5 separate regions of the Homo sapiens genome follow, and all the other regions are linked to region 2. The links are contacts of gene promoters, found by promoter capture Hi-C in blood cells and fetal thymus (Javierre and others, 2016). All regions are on one chromosome and are shown on one strand. Each heading gives the region's core, a stretch centred on a gene start or on the middle of the fragment in contact. The rest is flanking DNA. Distances are from core to core; before and after follow the strand shown. Region 1 overlaps SMAP2 (small ArfGAP2). Region 2 holds the start of CAP1 (cyclase associated actin cytoskeleton regulatory protein 1). Region 3 holds the start of SMAP2 (small ArfGAP2). Region 4 overlaps SMAP2 (small ArfGAP2). Region 5 has its middle 22 kb from the start of COL9A2.

Region 1 (4,705 bases), core at 1,288-3,787, 350 kb before region 2:
AAAGAATTCTTTCCAGTTGGTCCTGGGAAAGCTATGCAGTGCTCTTGGTGGTAGTGTCTGAGAGCTGAGACAAGGCCCAAGTCTTTGGGGGTTTCCCTAGGAGATTCTGGTATGTGCTGCTATGATTGTTTTTATAGTAAAGAGCCAACATATTTTAAGGAGGGAGAAAGAGCTAGCCAAGAGATTTTCTGCCAGTATTGAAGAACCTTGTAAAGTCAGTGAGATGAGACTGATTGCATAAGCCAATGAAGCCCCCAGTTGCTTCCGTTAGAGGCCAGTCCCTTGATGCTACAAACACTGAATAAGATAAAACTTAAAAATCTGAACAGGTCCACCTCTTCCTTTGAGGACAATAGACTTCTTCAAAAAAGAGCAAAAGTGGATCCCCGTAAGTTTTCATTTCATGGAGTGAACTGATGATGGCTAACCTTCAAGACATGGTTACTTGAAGATTCATCAAAATCCTTCCAATCCCTAGTGATTGGCGCCCCAAACACCTAAACACACCGCATAAGAGGAGAACAACTTCTGAGGGAAATGGTAGATGGTGTGATTGAAACACTTATCTTAAGAAAGCTTAGAACTGTCCTCCCAAGAAACCATAGGATGGAAGCAAAGAGTTCTGGAACTAAAGGAAAAAATTCTTGAAAACAAGCATATGAATGAACTCAGTTGCAAATGATAAAGAGAGCCAGCTAAAAATCTATGACTGAAACTCCTGGAGAAGATAGATTTCCTTGCTCTCTTTAGAGCCAATTACATGGATAATGGCAACTTGGAATTGGAAAAAAGGGTGAATCAGAAAATGGAGACCATTTAGATTATTGTCAGAAGTTAATTTGAAGAAACTCATTGATTCTGTTCACGCAAATACTCCTTAAAAAGGTTAGAAGTGGCCGGGCGCGGTGCCTCACGCCTTAATCCCAGCACTTTGGGATGCTAAGGCCGGTGGATCACCTGAGGTCAGGGGTTCAAGACCAGCCTGGCCAACATGCTGAAACCCCATCTCTACTAAAAATACAAAAATTAGCCAGGCATTGTGGCTCACGCCTGTAATACTAACTATTCAGGAGGCTGAGGCAGGGGAATCGCTTGAACCTGGGAGGTGGAGGTTGCAGTGAGCCAAGATTGAGCCACTGTACTCCAGCCTGGGCGACAGAGCAAGACTCTGTCACAAAAAAAAAAAAAAAAAAAAAAGTTAGAAGAACTACTTACACTTTGTTGATCAACTTACAGTCTCTCACAAATAGCTTTACAGGGCCTATTTCCTCTATTTGCAAAACATCTTTTTGTGCAAATCTTGCTCTGCCCACTTTCCCCATGAAGCCTTTTCTCCTTCCTATTCCAACTCCCACGGCGCTCTGCTGCCTCTCCTGCTGCACTCACTCATTTGTGGTTGTTCTGTTGTTGGGTTTTTTGTTTGTTCTTCTAAGATAGGGTTTGTTGCTTTGTTGCCCAAGCTAGAGTGCAGTGCAGCCTCAATCTCCTATGCTCAAGCAATCCTCCCACCTCAGCTTCTTGAGTAGCTGGGACTACAGGCATGTGCTACCACGCCTGGCCAGCTTTTATTTTTGAGAGCTCCTTTAGGTAACAACAACAATAAAATTATACTAATTTAGTATACTTTTTTTTTTTTTGAGATGGATTCACGCTCTGTCACCCAGGCTGGAGTGCAGTGGTGTGATCTTGGCTCACTGCAACCTCCGCCTCCCGGGTTCAAGCTATTCCCCTGCCTCAGCTTCCCGAATACCTGGGACTACAGGTGCATGCCACCACGCCTGGCTAATTTTTTGTGTCTTTAGTAGAGACAGCGGGGTTTCACCATGTTAGTCAGGATGGTCTCGATCTCCTGACCTAGTGATGCACCTGCCTCGGCCTCCCAACGTGCTGCGATTACAGGCATGAGCCACTGAGCCCGGCCTAATTTAGTATACTTTTTAAAAACCTAGTATGACTATTTTGCTTATGTGGATTTAAGTTTTAGATTGCTTATTACAGAAAATCACAGAAAGGTAATTTAAATACCCTAAATAGAAAGTCAAGGAAAAGGGTGTCCTTAATGCTCCTTGTCTCCTGGTTAGCCTATGATATTTCAGCTCCAGCCAATTTCCTTTACACAAAGACCCTGCTTAAAGCATTTATGAATAAGCTGGAAGAGTGGTGGATGAGACATGGCTTCTCTGAATAGGGGAGGGAGGACACAAAAAATAGCTGCTTTCATTGAGGGCAGGAAAGAGATTATTTCATTAGGAGCCAAACAGTGAGACTATCTCAGTACAAACAATTGTTTGGCTTGAAGACTCCATGTGGGTAATTACTCCAGCAAAGGCTCAGCTGGAATGGAACACGGAGCCTGCCAGGACCTAAGGATAGGGACTGACACAGGCTTAAGTGTCTGAATCATGGCTTTGGAATCCCAGAGCATCCCAGCAAAGATGCTCACAGAACACACTCTACCCCAATCAGCGAGAAGCACCATTCTGCACCCGACCAAGTGCAGAATGTGAATTTAAAACAGATGAGAAAATCTGGGGGTACTGGGAGCAAATTCAAAGTTATTAAACCTAAACTGATATTTTATAGCAAATGTAGCAAGTCCAAAGATTAGATTTCTTGGGCAATCTAATGCATTTCAATCACCACTTCAATGGCTAACAATAGGCTGGGTGGAGTTGGTGTGCAGGGAGGGACTGCTGAGCTAATAGCTGGGCAAATCATTTCAAAGTCAGCCAGGTGGACCTGATATTTCAAAACTTGATACTATAATTAAACCAATTTCCTAGTGACCTCACTTCAGGTAATATAAGCAAACTTGGTTCTCAAGTTACTGTCTTCATCTCCTGGGGACATTCAGTTCTTTACATTTTTAGGTTACTTCAGTTTAACTTCCTCTTTGCAACAACCAGTATCTACTCATATATTTAAAAACAAAAACAAAACAAAACAAAACAAAAAACTAAAGCTGCAAAGTGAGCCTGCCCACTGCGGGAGGGAAAGGGCCTATGTTTAGAAGAAGCTACTAAAAAGGGTGATATGGTCATTGTCCAATGAGATTGCTCTTCATCCTCCATCCCTAGGATAGATTCCTCACCCCACCACTTTGACGAGGAATTTTTTTCCCCTAGGAAGCTGAAGGGATAACTATCATAATACTAGATTCTGGATGCACAAGACCCAGTCCCGATCCATAACTCACAATCCCAGGGCCTTCCTAGGTTGCTATCTGATAGCCTTTGTGAGTGAATGCTTTCATACATTTCAATCATTACCCTGACCAAGGCTAATAGCAGGCTGGTGGGTGTAGGCGTGTAGGGACTGCTGCGCTAACAGCTGGGCAATCATTTCAAAGTTGGCCAGGTGGACTCAACATTTGAAAACTTGACATGGTCATTAAAGTCCCTCATAATCAAGCGTCGGCATTCATCTGTGTATAGTATACACTTAATGCATGCTTACTGATTAAACAGGTAATAAGCAATAGTGGAATAACATGAAAACTGATATTAAAAACAGCCCATATTCAAATAGTCCCATCTTTGTTCCTCTAGACCAATGGCTCCCAACAGAAACGATTTCCCCTCAAGGGGCAATGCTGATGTCTAGAGACATTTTTGGTTGTCACAACGGGCAGAGGGGTAGGGAAGAGCTACTGGCATCTAGTGGGCAGAGGACAGGAATGCTGGCTCCTAAACATTCTAAAATGCCCTGGACAGTGCCCACAACAAGGAATCACCCAAAATGTCAATAGTCTGAGGTTGAGAAATCCTGCTCTAGAGGAACCATTTTTAAGCCATTTAGTTTGAAGTGAGACATAAGAATATGTCAATTTTGTGGAAAAGCCTCTCTTGTTCTGTAACAAACAGATACACGTTTAGAGTACAAAATTCTAAAATTGTAACAAACCTTAGGAATGATCTAGTCTAAGCACAGTTGGAGAAACTAAGGCCTAGAGAGGTCAAGTCATTTGCCCAAGTTCACAGAAGAAAGGATCAGCTGGACTGAAATTAGAATCACCTTTACACACCCAAATGTGTGTTATACATAGTAAATGCTCAATAATGGTCACTAAATTGATATCTTGTTCTTTAGGTATTCTTTTTTTTATTATTACAACATACAATTCACTCTCTGCTGCTGGGAATCTGAGACTGATTGTGAAGATTTCTTCCCATCCACACTCCCCTTCCTCAAAAAGAAGCCCAGAAGGGAAAAACAGTGTAACCTACTAGAGCTCAAGACTGAGTGGCCAGGCAGAAGATGTTTTTCAATTGTTTCCAGGGAAGCTCATGTCTTTCACCCAGGCAGAGGCTCTACATAAAACCTTCTAAGTGAGCAAATGAGCCCTTGTGCAAGACCATGGACATGTGAATTTCTCTTCGCAACTCAGCACAGCAGCTTTCCTAACACATTGGAGAAGTCCCAACCAATGGCAAACAGATGGAAAATCAGTGCCAGTTTCACTGAATCACAACCACATCCAAACAAGCTAGAAAGCTTTCAGTTCTAAACAAACAGCAGAATCAAAATGAATTCTGGGATCAAAGTACAGATGGTTGGTTAGTCCAGTGGTGTGCAGAATATCAGTCATCAAAACAGCCCTGGCTTAAGGGAGGAGAGCAAAAGATGGAGATTTGCCCTTTGAAAAAGAAAACATTCACCACGATGTTTCAAAACCCAGGCGTTTCAGAATAGAACACAATGAGGT
Region 2 (4,765 bases), core at 1,063-3,562:
TTTGCCTGGATGTGCTACAAACACCTCAAACTAAAAACATTCAAAATGCATTTTTTCCCATGTCACTTCCCTAATTTACCTCTCATACTCTCTATCTGAATGGTACTACCCATTCAGTTCCCTAAGCCAGAAAGCCAGGCAATCGCGCTATTCTTACCTCTTCATTCCCATAATCAGCCTCCAATTCTATGGATTCTATCTTCTTAATATTGCTCACATCTGATGCCTCCTCTCCATTCCCATTTCCACTGTCTTAGTTCAGGCCATGTCTACAGCAAGAGCTTCCAAACACTGTTTTACTTCCCCACAGGGCTGGTCCCCTCCTACTTGACAGAATGAACTTTCTGAAATATAAATCTGACGACATCATTTTCCTGCATAAAACCCTTCAAAGCATCTCCATAGCTTTCAGGGTAAAAATCCAAATTCCTTAGCATGACTTACAATGTCCTCCACATATGACTGACCTGACCACATCTCACTTCCTCCACTTCCCCAGCCATTACTAGAATTCCAGTCACACTGAACTCGTCATGGTCTTTCAGCTGTCCGGTTCTCCAGGTCCTTGCACCTGTAGTAGTCTCTGCCTGGAAATCCCTTTTCCGGATTCCCTATGTAGCTAAATAAATATTTCAAGAGTTAGCCTCCCATTTCCTCCTGGAACCCTGGGCACCTGGCTCAGGTATTTCTCCACTGTGCTCTTGTAGCCCTGTGCTATGCACTATGACACTGTAAGCCATCCCTCATTTACTTGTCTATTTCCTCTCCCACTGTAAACTCCAGAAGAACTGTATTCTTTGCCACAAAGGCTATCTCATTAAAATGTGCCTCATACATATTAAGGTCTTAATAAACGTCTGGTGGGGCCGGGCACGGTGGATCATGCCCGTAATCCCAGCACTTTGGGAGGCCGAGGTGGGGGGATCACCTGAGGTTAGGAGTTCGAGAGCAGCCTGGCCTTCACGGCGAAACCCCATCTCTACTAAAAATACAAATAAATAAATTAAATAAAAGTCTGGTAAATGATAAATGTGCTGATATGCCCCCGGATTTTCTCTTGAAGAGAGAGCCCCACAAAGAGCTTCAACTGACACAGTTCTGATGCTAACCTGTCTCAAATGTTCTCATTCCACTCTTCGAACGCATTCCTATTTATCCTTCAAAATTCATCTTAAAAACTCTGCTTCTTCAGAAGGGCTTTTCCTGAACCCCCTGTTACATACTTTCAGAGCACCCTGTTCTTTCCTAACACTCATCAACATTTATAATTACTTCTTAAACATCCCTGCAAACACTGCTAGCTCCACGCGGGCAGGGTCTACATTGTTTTGTTTTAAAGCTGCATTCCCCGCATCTGGGAAAATGCTGGCACAGAATAAACACAATTTGTTACGCTGAATTTAATCTTGTGGGGTCAGCAGAGATCTCCACTTAAAAGATGAACAAAAGGAGGCTGAAAGAAGTTTAAGGCACCTATGGCCACAGACACTCAGCACTGAGGCCAGACCAAACCTGAGCCGTCTGATTTCAGGTCCAGAAGTACATACCTTCAATGTTAGCCTGGCTTGTCAAAGTAAGAGCAGCAGCCGAGGAGGAAAGGGAGGATATCTGCCTGTAAATACAAGGATGTGCCCGCCTTTCTTTTAAAAACTCCCTAGGCATTTCAAACGGCTCAATTTGGGAGGAGAGAAAAAAAAAAGTTCCACGCAGCGCTGGCCTTTAACCTGCAGCAGCCTGCGGGGCAACACCGACCGGAAGACCATCCCAAGTTAGAGAGGTTCCGAGCAACACGGGAAGAACTGGGGCTGGTTATCTAAGGCACCAGGATCATGATTCCGATTCTTTTCCTCACTCGCTATATATCTCAGACTAGCCTCTTCTCTAGGGATCAATTTACCTATCAGTGCAATGGGAGCATCAACAGGAGACAGGGAAGACTCTCCGATCTCGGAGGTTCCTTCCAGTCAGAGCACCTCAGGAATCAGGCCTCCGCTGAAGCTGATGGGCAGCGCTGCGAAATCGGGCAGAGGGGCCTCCCCGGGGCACCCGGACTCAGCTGCTCACCCCGGCCCCACCTCAAGAGACCGCGCCCAAGAGTCCGGGTCGGCCTGAGGGCCTCAGCCCCGGCCCTCTCGGCAGGGTTCATGACACGCGCGTAGGCCAGAAGGGCCATTAACACCACCAGGGGCCGATGGGCCCCGGAAGGGACCCCAATCCCTACCAAGCTGCACACCCTCACCTCAGAGTTCCGCCTCACCTCCGGACTGCGATCAGCCGCTCTCCGCTTCCGGCAAGAACCGCCCAGCAATCTCCGCGCGACCCACTTCCGGGCCCTCACTGGGCGCGGCGCCCCCACCGGAAATGAGCCGCCGGCTGAAGCGCTAGGCTGGCCCGCGACTGGGCAGGAAGTCTCACCGCCCCGCTCGTGACTCCGCCCCTCTTCGCCACGCCCCGGAGAGAGCGGCCCGGCTCTCACAGAGGGCACTTGGGAAAGAGCCCCGCCCTCAAGGCGGGAGCGACACGGGGAGGGCGGGCTCACAAGAGAGGCCACGCCCTCGTTCCGCTTTACCTACCCGGAATCGCCCCCGAGGCCCGGGCCCAGGAAGGGCAGAAGTCCCTGGCTAAGCTCCTCTCTGGAAAGAACAGAAGAGTGACCAGTTCCTCTGTCAGTTTGGTCTCAATGGCAGAGGCCGGTTCCTTTAAGCTGCAGTCCGTAAAGGGTCTTGGAACGACTGGGGGCCAGGATTCTCTGAGGGCGGGAATCCGGGCGGCCGTCAGCTCTCGGTGGTGATCGAGGCCACGCTCCGCCTGTCTCTGGGCGTGCATACCTCGGTTTCCCCGTTTGTGACGTGGGAAGGCAATTAGTCTGGACATTGTTGTGGGAGGACTTGCGGAGACTGGGCGCAGGGCGTGGGGGTCAGTGAGGGCGCGGTGGGTCAGCCCCAGCCCGGCTGGCAGTCGCGGGGCTGGGAAGGTAGGGAACCCTCCGCTCTCACCCCACTTCCTGTTTGGTCGGTGTGTTCTGTGACCATAGATGGTCAAGTCTGGGGCCGCGCGGAAGCCTCCGCCCTGTGGTTTTGGAGCCCTTCCTCCCGGCGCGCAGGGTGTGGTCCCCGAGAATAAGATGAGCAGAATTAAAGCAGATCCTGCACCCACTCTGCTGAAATCCGGCTTCTGAGGCAGCCTCGCCCAGGGCTGGGTGGGCTCAGGCGGCTGCTACTCGGTTCAGGGGAGGTTACGCACGGTGGCTGCCGCGCGCAGGGGAGGCTTCGCTTCCGTACTCCTTGGGCCGGGAGATCCGATCTTTGTTCCCTCAAGACTCACACTCTCCAACCGGTCATTATCCTCCCACAAAGATTTATTTCTAGAAAAAATTGGCAAGTGCCACAGTTCCCGCCCCTTCAGCTGAACGACTGTGACAGCTCCGTGTTTCAAGTTGAATGCAGGCGTTATGTGCCAGAGTCAATCATTCAACAAATAAAGTTCTTAAAATAACAGCTACCATTTACTGCACGCTGACTACTTGCCAGGCCCATGCTGAGTTCTTCAAGCGTATTTTCATTTACTCCTAATAGCAACTCTCGGTGGTAGGTACCATTATGCCCTCTAGTTTTCAAATGAGGAAGCTGAATAACTTGCCAAGGTCAGAAAGTAACTGTTGAAACTTTGAAGGAAACACATCTGTCTGACTCTAAATCCCATGAGCTTAATTAGCCCCTGTGATAGACCATACTGCAGACATTTGAGGCAGATTTGAGGTGGTGAATGCCTCTGGATCTGGAGACACTGGGTTCCAGTGCTGGCATAGGCCCTCTACTAGGGGTCAGACTTTGGTCAGGTTACTTTGGACGGGTTACTGGGCCTCTTCCTAACTTTATGGCTCCCAGCATGTTTAAAAGAACATGACAACATGAAAAAATATGGTATAAAAGTCATAGTATATTTTAAATATTGACATTTAACTAAAAACACTGTCTCACACACACACAAACTCTAACTTTATTTGGACATAATCTTTGACTCTGCATTTAGTTATTCTAAATCTCTTTCTGGATTAGAGACAGAAGGAACATAGACCATACACGCATTCTAGAGGAAGAGGAGAGAGAAGAGGAAGCAGGAAGGAGAATGAAGAAAGTTTCCTCATCAGGTGGGGAATATTAATGGGGCTGTAATGAGAAACGGAAGCAGTAATGTATGTGAAACCACTTTGTAAAATGCTTCATTATAAAGAATGCACACACGACTTAAGTTACAACCCCTGCCCTAAGGAATGTCCAGTCTTTTAAGAAGTCTAGATCCATGCATTTGTAACTCCAGTAGGAGATGGGAAGATAGTTTAAGAATATCCGTCACATGAAGGGCTGGGCGCGGTGGCTCACACCTGTAATCCCAGCATTTTGGGAGGCCGAGGCGGGCAGATAACGAGGTCAAGAGATCAAGACCAGCCTGGCCAATATGGTGAAACCCCGTCTCTACTAAAAAATACAAAAATTAGCTGGGCGTGGTGGCATGCGCCTGTAGTCCCAGCTATTTGGGAGGCTGAGGCAGGAGAATCGCTTGAACCCGGGAGGCAGAGGTTGCAGTAAGCTGAGATCGTGCTTCTCTACTCTAGCCTGGCGACAGAGTGAGACTCTGTCTCAAAAAAATAAATAAAAGAATATCTGTCACATGTATTTATGCACTGAAAAAAAACTATTGAGCTACATAGTAGCAATTATTGGAAGAGTTCAATAATTGCTATGCTACTTTGTACCAAGCACAA
Region 3 (4,453 bases), core at 1,922-4,421, 330 kb before region 2:
TCTGTGGATTTTAGTACCCCAGAAGGTTCCTGGAACCAATCCCCCCTGGATACCAAAGGACAACTGTAGATCCTTTCATGGTAAATAAGATAGTGTCCAGTTTAAAACACAGTCTCTGACGGGGTGGCTTAGCAATTATTCCTGACACACTGATAAAATCTGGAACTGCTGAGCTAGAAGTTAAAACTTGGACCAGTATGACCCCAAGTACAAAGGAAGTATGACCCATACCCAAAAATGGAACCCAGCCTCAATCAGCCAGAGTTACCATTGACATATCTGGAATTTTCAGTAGTTTTGTCCTCTGTTCTATCACTACCTAAGTTAGTCCAAAAGTTCACCCTAAAAGTCACATTAACCCCAGGGCTTTGGGTAATGAAGAAATCACATCTTGAGCCTAGAGAGAATCATAGCATTTCTTAAATAGGCAGCCCCAAAGCAGTTTCCTTTCCCACACTGAAATTACTGGAATGGTTTAGTGGTCCCAGAAACTGGTAAGACTCGTGCCCAGGACAGTTAAAAACCCCAGGATCAACAAAACTTGTACGAAGTAAAAAGAACACAAGCTTGTTCTCTATTCTGATGTTTATTTGTTGTGTTTTGTTTTAGAGACAGGGTCTTGCTCTCTGACCCAGGCTGCAGCGCAGTGGCACTCAATCATGGCCCACTGCAGCTTCGACCTCCTGGGCTCAGTTGCCCAGGTGATCCTCCTGCCTCAGCCTCCTGAGTAGCTGGGACCACAGATGCACAACACCACACCCAGCTAATTTTTTAACTATTTGTAGAGACAAGGTCACACTATGTTGCCCAGGCTGGTCTTGAACTCCTGGACTCAAGTGATCCTCCCTCCTTGGCCTCTCAAAGTGCTGGGATTACAGGTTTGAGCCACCACACCCAGCCTCTATTCCGAAGTTTAAATCACATACCTTGAAAGTCAACTAATAAATGTTCCTAAATAAGTATAAGAATTTAAAAATAAAAGTCATTGCCAAAGAGTTATATTTTGGAACATTGCAAAAATACCTGCTCATAGGTCGATAGTCTATGCCACATCATCTAACTGGATATTAATAGATGAGCAATCACTCACCATATCCTGTACAGTTAACTTCCAATTTTTTAGGAAAGGACACAGGAATACAGGTAAATAAACTGAAACCCAATTCTCATTTTAGCCAACACTTTTTAAATTCCTCCTCCAATGAAATGTATTTTTTATCAGCGCTAACAGGTAACAATTTATTGATCCAAACGTCTTTTCCTTCAACAATCTGATAGTTGTCCAAATGATCATTATGACAACCAAAATTAGAAAACAGCAGGGGAAAAAGAGTGAGAGGGCTTGGAGGGGTGGAATGGGATAGGTAATTCATAAATTGGATAAACAGAGGCCTCAACAAATGCCTATTTGTCATAATCTAAAGATGACTGACCCATTGTCATCTCATTTTTAATACAATGACCAAGTCCCTGAAGCCACCTGGTAAAATGTAAAACGAACTTCTGAAAAGAAATTGAGGATCCAGGATTCTACCATCAACAGTAGTTAATAAAGTTTACAAGCCAGCAGTTACTAGTTCTCATTAAGAATTAACTGATATTTCATAACCTGATCCCCAGTAAGCTTATTAATAAAAAGCAACGGAAATTTCGGGCTGGGCATGGTGGCTCACACCTGTAATCCCAGCACTTTGGAAGGCTGAGGCGGGTGGATCACCTGAGGTCAGGAGTTCAAGACCAGCCTGGCCAACATGGTGAAACCCTGTCTCTACTAAAAATACAAAAATCAGCTGGGCATGGTGGCGGGCGCCTGTAATCCCAGGTACTCGGGAGGCTGAGGCAGGAGAATCACTTGAACCCGGGAGGCAGAGGTTGCAGTGAGCCGAGATTGCACCATTGCACTCCAGCCTGGGCGACAAAGCGAAACTGTCTCAAAAAATAAAAATAAAAAATAAAATAAATAAAAAGCAATGGAAATTTGGAGGAAGAAGTAGTGAATCAGCCTCTCTCTTCCATGTGCTGTATTTTATTGGAATATGAGTAAGTATAAGGGTAATATGAGAAATGGGGGGGGGGGTTCTAGTCACCAAAATGGCATCTGACTCTCCAAATGCAGCAATGCTCACTCCAGTGGGTTGCTTCACTGTGACTCAAGATCTGTCAAATGAGGACATAAGGGAATTTGAATAAAGCCAAGATACACTCCTAAAATAAACCAAATCTTCCAATAGACCTAACAGAAGATGTAACAAGAATCAAGAAGCTAACCTACTCAACATAAATTGATTCTAAAATACTTTTTAAAATGAATTATTGCTAATGCAAAAATTCAGGAAAGAAGTCTAGGAATTTGTTTTCCTAATGGCACATTCCATTTATCTGTTGGTAGAGGTCACTAAAATACATTACTAGGTGTCTATGTATCCCTCCCCTGTTCTCCTTTTATAACCTTATTCTTCAAAAATAAAAGGTAATTAAGTGAAAGCATCAATTAAATATGTCCTTCCTTTCTCAAAATAGATAAATACGAATATAACTGAATCTTTGTTTTATAGTATATGCCCACTACGCTGTACGGCAAACAACCATGGCAAATCCACTGCATTATGAACAAAAGTAAATTGTCGCCCCCAAAATATAACTATCCATTTCGACCCAACCAAAGGGAAAATAATTTTCCCAATCCTCCAATTATATGCCAAAAGAATTAGAAAATACAGGAAAAAAAGATTCATAGAAGCTTGTATAAATGTCAAGTGCCAACATTTCACTAATAACCAAGATTTCCTATTGTACTGACTTTTAATTGTATCAAATCATGAATCTTCTAGGGCACAGAAAACAAAGACTAAATGGTTCTGCCAATTTACAATGATCATATTTCACCTTTAGAAGTGTAATCGCCATGGAAGCAATGAATTCATCGAATTCATCTTTCTCTCTCCACTGATTAAACGGATCCTGCACTACAGGCATAATCGGCTAGTTTCTGCCACCACTCATACATAGGCCTCCAACGCACTCTACAAGCCAGGGCTACACTGCCTAGAAATCCGCACTGTGTCACTGCATAAGGCAGTTTCCCACTGCACACATCCAGAAGAATAAAGTCACCTAAGCACTCTTGTCAGATCTTAGCAAGGCTGCAAAATGACAGGAGTTGCTAACCAAATAGCAGGAAGCAAAAATCACCACCTTTAAAAATCATTTAAGCAGTTTTCCTTTCCGCCATCTCACTTCCCTCCTCCTCCTCCTCGTCATTCTCTCTCTCTCTCTCTCACACACACACACACACACACACACACACGCACGCACGCACGCACGCAATGCAGTTCATCCCCAGCTTTGCAAGTGACATGCTGGGAGCTCTCTCTGGACAGCCGGCCCAGAACTCATTCAGAGCCCTCAAATACAGACATTCTCACCTGAACACGCCAGGCAACTTCCACCCGCACCATCACCTCCACCCTCCCCGACACACACAGACTCGCCCTCGCAAGCTCTACCCATACCAATCCCCCAGCTGCAGAAAGCCCAGTAGGCTCACTGCAAGCGCAGCACGCGTTACCACTTATAAGCCGAGTTGGGCGGCCTAAGCTTCAGAAACCGCCTCTTCACGCAGCCCACCCCCACCACCCCGGCGCGGCTGGACCCCTGGCCCGCCAGGTGGGATGCGCTACCTTTAGACTGGCAATCTGCACAAAACTTGTTATCCTCCTCCAGCAGCAGGTTGGCCAGGACAGCCTGGTACCGATCCACGTCCTTCACCGACTTGCCTGTCATGGCCAGGGTGCCGGCGGGGGCAGAGGGCGACGCGCCCTCCTCGCCCCCAGAGACCCCTGCCTCAGTCCGGGGTTGAGGACTCCCGGTCCCCCGCCCAGGGGCACCTCCTGAGCGGGGAGAGCCCTCTCCTCCGGCCCCGCCGGACGCCCCTTCCCGGGTCGGGGGCGTCCGTCCCCCACTCCGCAGCCCCTCGGCGCGGCGCCCCTTGGCGGGCTTAGGGACAGGCCCGCCTCCAAGAGAGGCTGCGGGGCCAGAGACCCTCAGCCCAGGCAAAGGCGGACCACGAGCCTCCTGGGTGCCGGACGCAGATGACCCTCTGGCCGGCCTGTCTGCTGGCCTTGCGTCCCGCGCCTCGGTTTCCCTGGCAGCTGCCGTCAGCTCCGCTACCACCTCCACCGCCTACTTCCGGCAGCTCTTCCTCCCCACCTCCACCCTGCCCAGCTCGCGCATGCGCCCCGCCCCCACCGCGCCGCACTGGGCTCTTCCTTCAGCTCCGCCTCTCGGGAACCAATCCGTGGAGAAGCGGGGGGCGGGCCTTGGGTGGGGGCGGAGGGAAGGGGTGGGCACGCCCCCTGCGTGTCCTTGGAAGAGAATGAATGGAGCCTGGTAGAAAGGGAGTGGAGGGAATGGAAGAAAGTGAAGGAAGACAACAACTAACATTTACTGAGCT
Region 4 (4,313 bases), core at 747-3,246, 380 kb before region 2:
ATCCTACTGAAGGCAGGGGGGAGGCGGGAAGGGATGTGTGTCTGTGTGTGGGATCTTCATAAAGTCTTTGGTGCTAATAAAGGCTGACTGAAGCAGCAAGTCCTGAAGCCCCAGATCCAGAAAGCAACTCAGGGCGAAGAGAGTAGTATTTTTGCTCATCCTCATAGGAGGGGGCTTGCCTCACCCCAGGGCTAGGGTCAAACTGACCCAGGACCCAGGGAGTATTTAATTTGATTTCAGTACTTGCTTCATTCCCATAAATCATGAGAACATGATGCTTTTCAAATTTAAACACTTAGAAACAGCTTATTAACACATATAGAAGGACCTCTAAGCTTTCCCCTGTTTGCCTAATATACAACACCCACAGACCCTTCTGAGAGTCTGACAGGAGCTTTAACCTTGAGGGAAGGGACTCAAAGGTGTGCACACTTCTCCCACAGTTTAAGTGCCTTCTGCCAACAACTTCTAAGGTGCTGGTGCCAGGAGAGGACTGGGGAGGACGTTGGGATGGCTATGGGGCATGTACAACATAAAGCAACAGAGAGGTCTTCATGTTTGGGAAGTGGCTGGGCAGGATGCCAAACCCCAAATGACTTATTGAGCAATTTCTAAACCAAACAGAGAGGTAGGAAAAGAGGATGGGGGTCAGGGGTGGAGGCTGTGGAAAGGGGAGAGCGAGGGCTGAAGAGAATGGCAGCCATACAGGTGTTTTGTTTTTATTTCCACATCTGAGGACTGAGAGTCTGATTTGCTGCCTGTCCATTTCCGCCACTCATTGACTGTCCATAGTTCATCATGCCATTGGCTCCATAGAAGTTCATCCCAGCCATCTGCTGGGTCATCTGAAAGGGAGAGAGGAGACTTTCAGACCAGGCTGTGGGCATTCCGCCAATTAGTGCAAAAGGCAGGGTGAGAGTCCCTTTCTCTGCCAGGATGGGGAGAATGAGACAAAGGGAAACTCTGTTATGGACAGTAAACCCTGGACCTTAGCAGTCAGATCATTTCAAGGCCACGTACGTGAATGACCTTTTGGGAGTGCAATGCTGACGGAGACTAAAGCTCAGGGAGGGAAAGAAGGCATCCTGGCATCTGGATCTAGTCGACAGAAAATCAGCATGAGTTCCTCTCTTTTTCCTTTCCAGTCCCTCATCCTAAATAGAAGGGGCCTATTGTTAACTTGCCTGGCCAATCCTAAAAGCTGAAAGGAAAGCCCCCTCCCCAGTGCTCCCGCCTCATCTTCAGCACAGCTATTACTGTCAGTGTCAGGGAAAGCGCTTGAGCAGGCTTGCTCGTTTGCACAAGGGGGAAAAAAAGGAACTGGACTGTTCAGAATGAACAAAGGCGGTGGCGGGGCGGGGGCGGGGGAAGACTAATGTGTCTTCAGTGTATAAGAAGGGAAGGAGCTGGGAGAAAACAGTCAGTGGAATAAGGCCTGGGGCAGGATGGGGCGGGGGTCCTTCATGAATCTGATGGAAAGACTGGCCCCTAGCAGTGAACAGAAAAATACTTTATGGAGAAAAATGCCTTGAATTTCCTAAGCCTAGTAAATTTTCTATATAAGTTATTTTTCTTTAGGAGAAACTATTATTTTCTTGTACCAACTTTTAAAGTAAATTTCAAACTGACATAAAAGTTGAAACAATAGTACAATAAAACCCATGTATCTTCTTCCTTAAATTCACCAACTGTTAACATTTGCCATATTTTCTCTCCCTCCCTATAAAAAAACTTACATTTTTTTGATGAGTATCAAAAGTTGCAGATTAAAAAAAAAAAAAAGCTGCAGCTATCACGACATTTCATTCCTAAGTCAGGAGGCACCTCATAAGAATGAACACTTTAACAGAACCACAAAACAATGAACACGCTCAAGAATTTTAACATTAACACCATATTCTAATGTACATGGCATTTCATTTTCAGATCTCTGTAGTCTCCTTTAAGCTAGACCAGTTTCCCTAACACTTCCTTCCATTTCTTCCTGACACTGACATTTTTAAGAACCCAGGACAGTTATTTTGTAGCATACCCCTCAATTTGGATTCATCTCATGTTTTCTCATAATTGGATCGAGGTTCAATATTTTTGGCAAGATTCTATGGAGGTGACACATGTCTTTCTTAGTACAAAATATCAGGAAGCATATGACATTACTTTGTTCCTCTGTCAGTAATTTTATGTTTGATCACTTGGCTGAGGTAGTGACTATATTTCTTTCATTATAATTAATAAATAATCTGAAGGGCATTTCTTTGCAAATGTGTCAATCCTTTGCTCTTTTTACAACTACTGTCATTCTTCTGTAAAGAAGGCTTTTCCTCCCTCCATTCCACACCTGGTTTTTAAAAAATATCACCGTGGACTCATGGTTTTGTTTTGTTTTTTCCATTCAGTGTGTCATAATCCATTACTGTTGTTACTCTTTTTGATGTTCAAATTGTCTCACATTTGGCCAGTCAGAGCCACTGGAAGTTGGCTCATGCGTCCCTCTGACATATTCCCATCAGACTTATAGCATTCCATTACTTATATAAATAAAAACGAAACAATGAAAATAAGTGAATTAAAATCTCCACTATGAAAGCTAGAAAATAACAAAGTAAACCCATAGAAAGCCTACGGAAATTGAGGTAGAAAACGGAAAAATGTAGCACCAATAAATCGAAATCCTGGTTCTTTGAAAAAAATTAATGAGACTGCTAGGCATAACTTTTGATAAATTTGAAAACCTTGGCGAAATGGAAAATCTAGGTAAATACAGTTTTCCAAAATTGACTTCCATAGAAGAAACAGAGAAAAGTATCAAAGATTTGCTACAAAAAAAGCAATAGTGCCCACAAACTTCACATGGGAATTCCACAAAACCTTCAAAGACCAGAGCTACATAAATTATTCTGGACCACAGAGAAACAAAAACATAAAAGTACTTCTTATAAATAAGTATAACCCTGATAAAGATAGCTATACATGCACATGTGCAGTACACATGCACCATACCACCTCTCTGGGGTTCCTTTGCCTGTCTCTTGGTTTTCACATTAAATCACTTTGTATTTCTTTGTACCTAGTGCAAAACTAGTGTTGCTTTGTTAGCCAATTTGAACATCATTTTCTTTTGATAGAAGAGTTGCCTACTGGTATGACTGGTATGTTTGGTCTCAACTCCATCATATTAGATTTTTACTGTGTTTATTGTATTTGCTGCACTTTGTAGTCTGTTTTTAAAAATTCTCAGCTGGGCGCAGTGGCTCATGCCTGTAATCCCAGCACTTTGGGAGGCCAAGGTGGGTGGATCACCTGAGGTCAGGAGTTTGAGACTAGCCTGGCCAACATGGTGAAACCCCGTCTCTACTAAAAAATACAAAAAAAATTAACCGGGTGTGGTGGCGGGTGCCTGTAATCCCAGCTACTCGGGAGGCTGACGCAGAAGAATCACTTGAACCCAGGAGGCGGAGGTTGCAGTGAGCCGAGATTGTGCCACTGCATTCCAGCCTGGGTGACAGAGTGAGACTTTGTCTCAAAAAAAAAAAAAAAAAAGAAAGGAAGAAAATTATCTTGGTATTCAGAACATTTCACGTGTTTGTTCTAGTGATTACCTTCATAGTAATACTTTTTAGCAATGTCCTTGGTCTCCTTTTTCCTTATTCAAGCTTCCGTGATTTGGTTTGTCAGCTTATTGCATCCTTCGATTTCTACTTCTTTCCCATACAATATTTATTATTCAACTTTTCTCCCTCCTCCTTCATTTTCAGTTGTATTTGTTTGTCAGAATATAATGTATATTCTGCAACGCTTGTCACCACCTTTGTTTTAGTCTTAGATTCTCAATTAAACATTCAATTCTCACCATCAGTTCTTTTGCCAAAAATGAAAATGACCCCAGTCATCTCTTAGGTGGATGAAGCTTATCTTCTGTTAGATTCCCCAGGAAAGTCTTGTAAGTGTGATATTCTCTGAGTTCTTGCATATTTATTTTTTACAGCCTTGATACCTGAAGGATAGCTTGGCTGGCTTGGTTGTAAAATACTTGTTGTGTCTTGCATACACTTGAGTGTCTTTAAAATACTACTCTCCTTGTTATTCTTTTTGTATTTTGCTGCTAGGAAGTCTGATGTCAACCTGGGTATTTTTTGTTTGTTCTAAGTAACAGATTTTTGTGGGTAGGAGGTATGGAAAAGGTTGGACCCCTAAACATTTTGAATGTTCTTTAAAGTCTGTAGATTTGCTGGGATATGTTTTAAAGTTGACTGTTCTGGGTCAATTTTCCCAGACACACAGTGGGCTCTTTCCATATTATATCCAAGTCTTTT
Region 5 (4,849 bases), core at 1,040-3,539, 300 kb before region 2:
ACCTAATTTAGATAATATCCATGATAAATCTGAAACTCTTGAGCTAATGAGATTTAAATGAGACTTTGAACTTTGAGTTGATACTTTAATGGGCTGAGATTTTTAGGGACCTTGGAATAAGGTGAATGCATTTTGTTCGTGAGACAGGTATGAATACTGGGGCCAGAGAATGGTCTGTGGTAGGCAGAATAATGATCTACCAAAGATGCCTCCAGAACCTGTGAATCTGTTACATTACATGGCAAAAAGGGACTTTGAAGAATTGATTAAATTAAGGATTATGAGACAGGGAGATTATCCTACATTACCTAATAGGCCCAATATAATCACAAGGTCCTTAAAAGTGGAAAGGGGGCCGGGCGTGGTGGCTCATGCCTGTAGTCCCAGCACTTTGGGAGGCTGACGCAGGCAGATCACTTGAGGTCAGGAGTTCAAGACCAGCTTGGCCAACACGGTGAAACCCCGTCTCTACTAAAAATACAAAATTATCCAGACGTGGTGGCAAGCACCTGTAATCCCAGCTACTCAGGAGGCTGAGGCAGGGGAATCACTTGAACCTGGGAGGCGGAGGTTGCAGTGAGGCGAGATCACACCATTGTACTTCAGCCTGGGCAACAAGAGTGAAACTCCATCAAAAAAAAAAAAAAAAGTGGAAGGGGAAGACAGAAGAGAGAAGCACAGGGAGATTTTACTATAGTATGGTCAGTAAGATGTAACTTTGTTGGTTTTGAAGATGGAGGAAGGGGAAACCAAGAAATGTGGGAAGCCTCTAGAAGGTGGGAAAGGCTGGGCAATGAGTTATCTCCTTGAGCCTCCAGAAAGGAACACAGAGGAAAAACAATGGAGCAAAACTGGAAGCAAGGAGTTAAAATAAGAGGCAGTTGCAATACCCCCAAGCAAAAGAGGATGGTATGCTGAATAAGGTAGGTGCAGTGGGGATGGAGAGAGGTGGATGGATTAAACACCTATGAGGTATAGTCACTGGGACAAGGCGATAATATTTCTCGGGGAGGAGAGAGGGAAGTCTCTTCTCCAGGATGACATCCATAGTTTTGGCTTATGCAATAGGGCAGAGGGTGGGACCACTGGCTGTGTAGGCCACACAGGAAGAGGAACAGGTTTGTGGGCAAGAAGATAATTTCATTTGGGACATGTCAGTTTGGTGGTGCCTGTGGAACATCTGAGAAGCAGTTGGATAAGCAGGTCTGAGACTCAGGAAAACATATAGGCAGCAGTTAAAGTCAACCCGATGGATAAGATGGCCCAGGAAGAGTATAAAGAATAAGAAGATAGGACAGGACCTTGTAGAGTGCTAAGTAAGGGTGTGCAGAGAAAAGAAATCTGCAAGGGGCCTGAGAAAGAACAGCTGGAGAGGTAGGAGGAAAGCCAGGAGAGTGTAGTTCATGTAAGCGGACACTAAAGCTTATCAGTGTTGGACCAGCACTGGGAAGGAATCAGATGGAACAAGTGGGAGGTCAGATGAAACCAGGGTCAGGATTGGCAATTCTGAGGAGTTTGGAGTTGCTCTGTTCTAGCTGGAGAGAGAAGCACCTGTGGGAAGCTGATGGTTGGTATTTTCTGCCAGGCATAAGAGGGCAGCCAGAGGCCAGGTGAGCAAACCTGTTTAGCACTCTGGCTCAGCCCAGAATGGGCAGCTGTTTCCAGGAAGGGGTTCTAGGTCGTCTCACTGTGCTGTAATTAAGAGACTCAGCCCCTGCCCCAACTTGCTCCACGGGACTGACCAGCTGTGTTTGCTCTTCTCTAGCAGGGAAGGGGGATCATCTGTCACCTACTCTGTTTTCTGAACATTCATCCCACTCCCTGCCTTTCTTACAAAGTTCCTTCTGCCAATTAACCGGGTGTGGTGGCGGGCGCCTGTATTCCCAGCTACTTGGGAGGCTGAGGCAGAAGAATCGCTTGAAACCGGAAGGCAGAGGTTGCAGTGAGCAGACATTGCGACACTGCACTCCAGCCTGGGCGAAAGAGCGAAACTACATCTCAAACAAACAAAACGAAGTTCCCTTCTGCCGAAAACAAATATCCAAAGCGTTCTGGGCACTGTGCTAAGTACTTCATGGTCATCAAGAGACACTATTCTCCCCATCTCACAAATGAGGAAACTGAGGCTTAAAGAGATGAAATGACTTGCCCAAGGTCACAGTCAGTATGTGGTAGAACCAGGATCCAAGTCTAGCTGAATCCAAATTCTAAGTTCTAACTCCCCAGAAACCACGACTGCTCCCTCGCTGGGTTCCCACAGTGCTTTATCTGCCTCTATGCCCGTTTCATCTCGCTAGCAGCTCCTGGAGAAAGGGGCTTTTAATTCGTCTTGTCAAGCTGTCATCATGGTGTGCTGCCGCAGAGGACCACTAGGTGCCGCCAGAGCACCAGCCAGCCTGATTTACTGCTCACCTGGAGTCGGTCTAAAGGAGCAACTGGTGGGGAAGGGAGCTGGGCCTTTTCTTCCTGCCCTGCAGCCCACCTCTCCTTCCTATCGGAGGTGGGAAGAAACGACTGGAAGATTGGAAGGTTAGAAATTAGAGATTTGGCCGGGCGTCGTGGCTCACGCCGGTAATCCCAACACTTTGGGAGGCAGAGGCAGGTGGATCACATGAGGCCTGGAGTTCGAGATCAGCCTGGCCAACAGGGTGAAACCCCGTCTCTACTAAAAATACAAAAATTAGCCGGGCGTGGTGGTGCACATCTATAATCCCAGCTGCTCAGGAGGCTGAGGCAGGAGCTGAGGTTTGAACCCACGAGGCAGAGGTTGCACTGAGTCGAGATGGCGCCACTGCACCCCAGCCTGGGCAACAGTCAGAGCTGGTCTCAAAAAATAAATAAATAAATAAATAAATTTAGAGATCTGAGGAGTGTAAACTGGAGCAGCCCAGGGCTCAAGTCAAACAGAAGATCCTAAGAGTTCTCTAAGAAAGCTAGAACCAGCAAAATAAAATATTGCGGCAAACATCTCCAGGCTGGGTCTCAGCCCCACTCCTCTGTCCTCCCTTTTTGTGCAGATCCTAAAATGCACAACCCTATGCTGTGGCTGTAGTGGAAAGTGGGGAAAATGTATGTTACTGAGACCTATCCAGAGCTAGAAACTGTGGGAAAACAGGTGTGTGTCCTTGGGGAAATCACTTCACACCTCTAAGCTTCAGTCTTCTTGTAAATAAAATGAGGATAGGCCCAGCACAGTGGCTCACGCCTGTAATCCCAGCACTTTGGGAGGCCAAGGTGGGAGGATCGCTTGAGCCCAGGAGTTCAAGACCAGCCTGGACAACATAGTGAGACCTCTTCTCTATTAAAAATAAATAAATAAATAAAATGAGGATAATCAAGGGACCTACCTCGTTGAGCGGTTGTGAGGAGTTAAAGACAAAATGCATGTACCACACTGATACAATATCTGTCATATAGCAAGTGCTTAATAAATATTGTTATAAACACAATAATTATGATAATATAAATATTTAAATGATAAGCATTATTGTTGTATTTGTCAGGATTCTCCAGAGAAACAGAACCAATAGGATATATATAGATAACGTAAGAGGAAATTTATTACGGGCGTTGGCTCATGCGATTACAAAGGCCAAGAAGTCCAATGATAAACTGTCTGCAAGCTGAGAACCAGGAAAGCCGGTAGCGTAATTTAGTCCCCAGTGGAAGGCCTGAGAGTGGGGTTGGGGAGGGAAACCGGTTCAAGAACCAGGAGCTCCGATGTCCAAGGGGAGGAGAAAATAGATGTCCCAGCTCAAGGACAGAGAGAATTCACCCTTCCTCTGCCTTTTTATTCAAGCCCTCAATGGACTGGATGCTGCCCACTCACATAGATGAAGGTGGATCTTCTTTGCTCTCAGTCTACTGATTCAAACGTTAACTCTTCCAGAAACACCCTCAAAGGCACACCCAGAAATAATGTTCTACCAGCTAATATCCCTTAGTCCAGTCAAGATGACACGTAAAATCAGTACACAAAATTAACAGTCACTGCTGGGCGTGGTGGCTCACGCCTGTAATCCCAAAACTTTGGGAGGCTGAGGCGGGAGGATCACCTGAGTTCAGGAGTTCGAGACCAGCCTGGCCAACATGGTGAAACCCTGTCTCTATGAAAAATACAAAAAAATTAGCCAGGCATGGTGGCGGGTGCCTGTAATTCCAGCTACTCTGGAGGCTGTGGCAGGAGAATTGCTTGAACCCAGGAGGCAGAGGTTGCAGTGAGCCGAGATCACACCACTGCACTCCAGCCTGGGCAACAGAGTGAGACTCCATCTCAAAAAACATTATAAGCAAATCAAAGAAAATTGAGGACTACCAGATTATAATTTCTGACCCATTATCTTTCACCCAACTTGGTCTTGAACAACTAGTAGCTATTTCTCAAATCCAATCCACCTTCAAGGTTTAACAAACAAATAAAAATATGTTCACACACCTTCAAAATAATCTGATAGAAGTTCTGAAGATAGGCTGGGTGAGGTTCACACTTGTAATCCCAGCACTTTGGGAGGCCGAGGCAGGCAGATCACGAGGTCAGAGGATCCAGATCATCCTGGCTAACAGGATGAAACTCCATCACTACTAAAAATACAAAAAATTAGCTGGGCTTGGTGGCACACAGCTGTAGTCCCAGATACTCGGGAGGCTGAGGCAGGAGAATCGCTTGAACCCGGGAGGCAGAGGTTGCAGTGAGCCGAGATCGTGCCATTGCACTCCAGCCTGGGCAACAAAAGCAAGACACCGTCTCAAAAAAAAAAAATTAATGATCACCATTAATAATAAGTGGTAGTTCTCGGCCGGGCGCAGTGGCTCACGCTTCTAATCCCAACACTTTGGGAGGCCGAGGCGG

The links. The method cuts DNA at HindIII sites, captures the fragments that hold promoters and counts their contacts. A CHiCAGO score of 5 or more calls a contact.
Region 1: a contact is called between a fragment that was not itself captured here and the fragment with the promoter of CAP1 in region 2, in 1 of 17 cell types (M0 macrophages). The highest score is 5.1, in M0 macrophages.
Region 3: a contact is called between a fragment that was not itself captured here and the fragment with the promoter of CAP1 in region 2, in 2 of 17 cell types (non-activated CD4 T cells and neutrophils). The highest score is 5.2, in non-activated CD4 T cells.
Region 4: a fragment that was not itself captured here is called in contact with the fragment with the promoter of CAP1 in region 2 in 2 of 17 cell types (neutrophils and monocytes); the score reaches 8.0 in neutrophils.
Region 5: a fragment that was not itself captured here is called in contact with the fragment with the promoter of CAP1 in region 2 in 1 of 17 cell types (neutrophils); the score reaches 5.5 in neutrophils.

What each region holds. Positions count from the first base shown.
Region 1 is chr1:40,390,034-40,394,738 of GRCh38, reverse strand. The region is part of intron 1 of SMAP2 (small ArfGAP2); the gene reads right to left. Among named protein-coding and RNA genes, the nearest start is that of SMAP2, 19 kb to the right of the region's middle. The HindIII fragment of the contact is 3,918 bases long and covers 579-4,496 here.
Region 2 is chr1:40,038,276-40,043,040 of GRCh38, reverse strand. It overlaps CAP1 (cyclase associated actin cytoskeleton regulatory protein 1), which reads right to left and starts at 2,312. Exons shown (of 13, transcript NM_006367.4): 1 at 2,240-2,312. It overlaps LOC105378669 (a long non-coding RNA gene), which reads left to right and starts at 2,595. Exons shown (of 3, transcript XR_001738013.3): 1 at 2,595-4,150. RefSeq lists enhancers at 2,013-2,102, 2,173-2,372, 2,026-2,660, 2,623-2,692, 2,661-3,294. The HindIII fragment of the contact is 17,502 bases long and covers 1-4,765 here.
Region 3 is chr1:40,373,451-40,377,903 of GRCh38, reverse strand. It overlaps SMAP2 (small ArfGAP2), which reads right to left and starts at 4,177. Exons shown (of 10, transcript NM_022733.3): 1 at 3,681-4,177. The coding sequence starts at 3,783. RefSeq lists an enhancer at 3,420-3,919 and silencers at 3,905-4,044, 4,115-4,434. The HindIII fragment of the contact is 857 bases long and covers 2,743-3,599 here.
Region 4 is chr1:40,418,508-40,422,820 of GRCh38, reverse strand. It overlaps SMAP2 (small ArfGAP2), which reads right to left. Exons shown (of 10, transcript NM_022733.3): 10 at 1-845. The coding sequence ends at 720. Among named protein-coding and RNA genes, the nearest start is that of ZFP69B-DT, 29 kb to the left of the region's middle. The HindIII fragment of the contact is 3,318 bases long and covers 338-3,655 here.
Region 5 is chr1:40,336,412-40,341,260 of GRCh38, reverse strand. No RefSeq gene overlaps it. Among named protein-coding and RNA genes, the nearest start is that of COL9A2, 22 kb to the right of the region's middle. The HindIII fragment of the contact is 1,730 bases long and covers 1,425-3,154 here.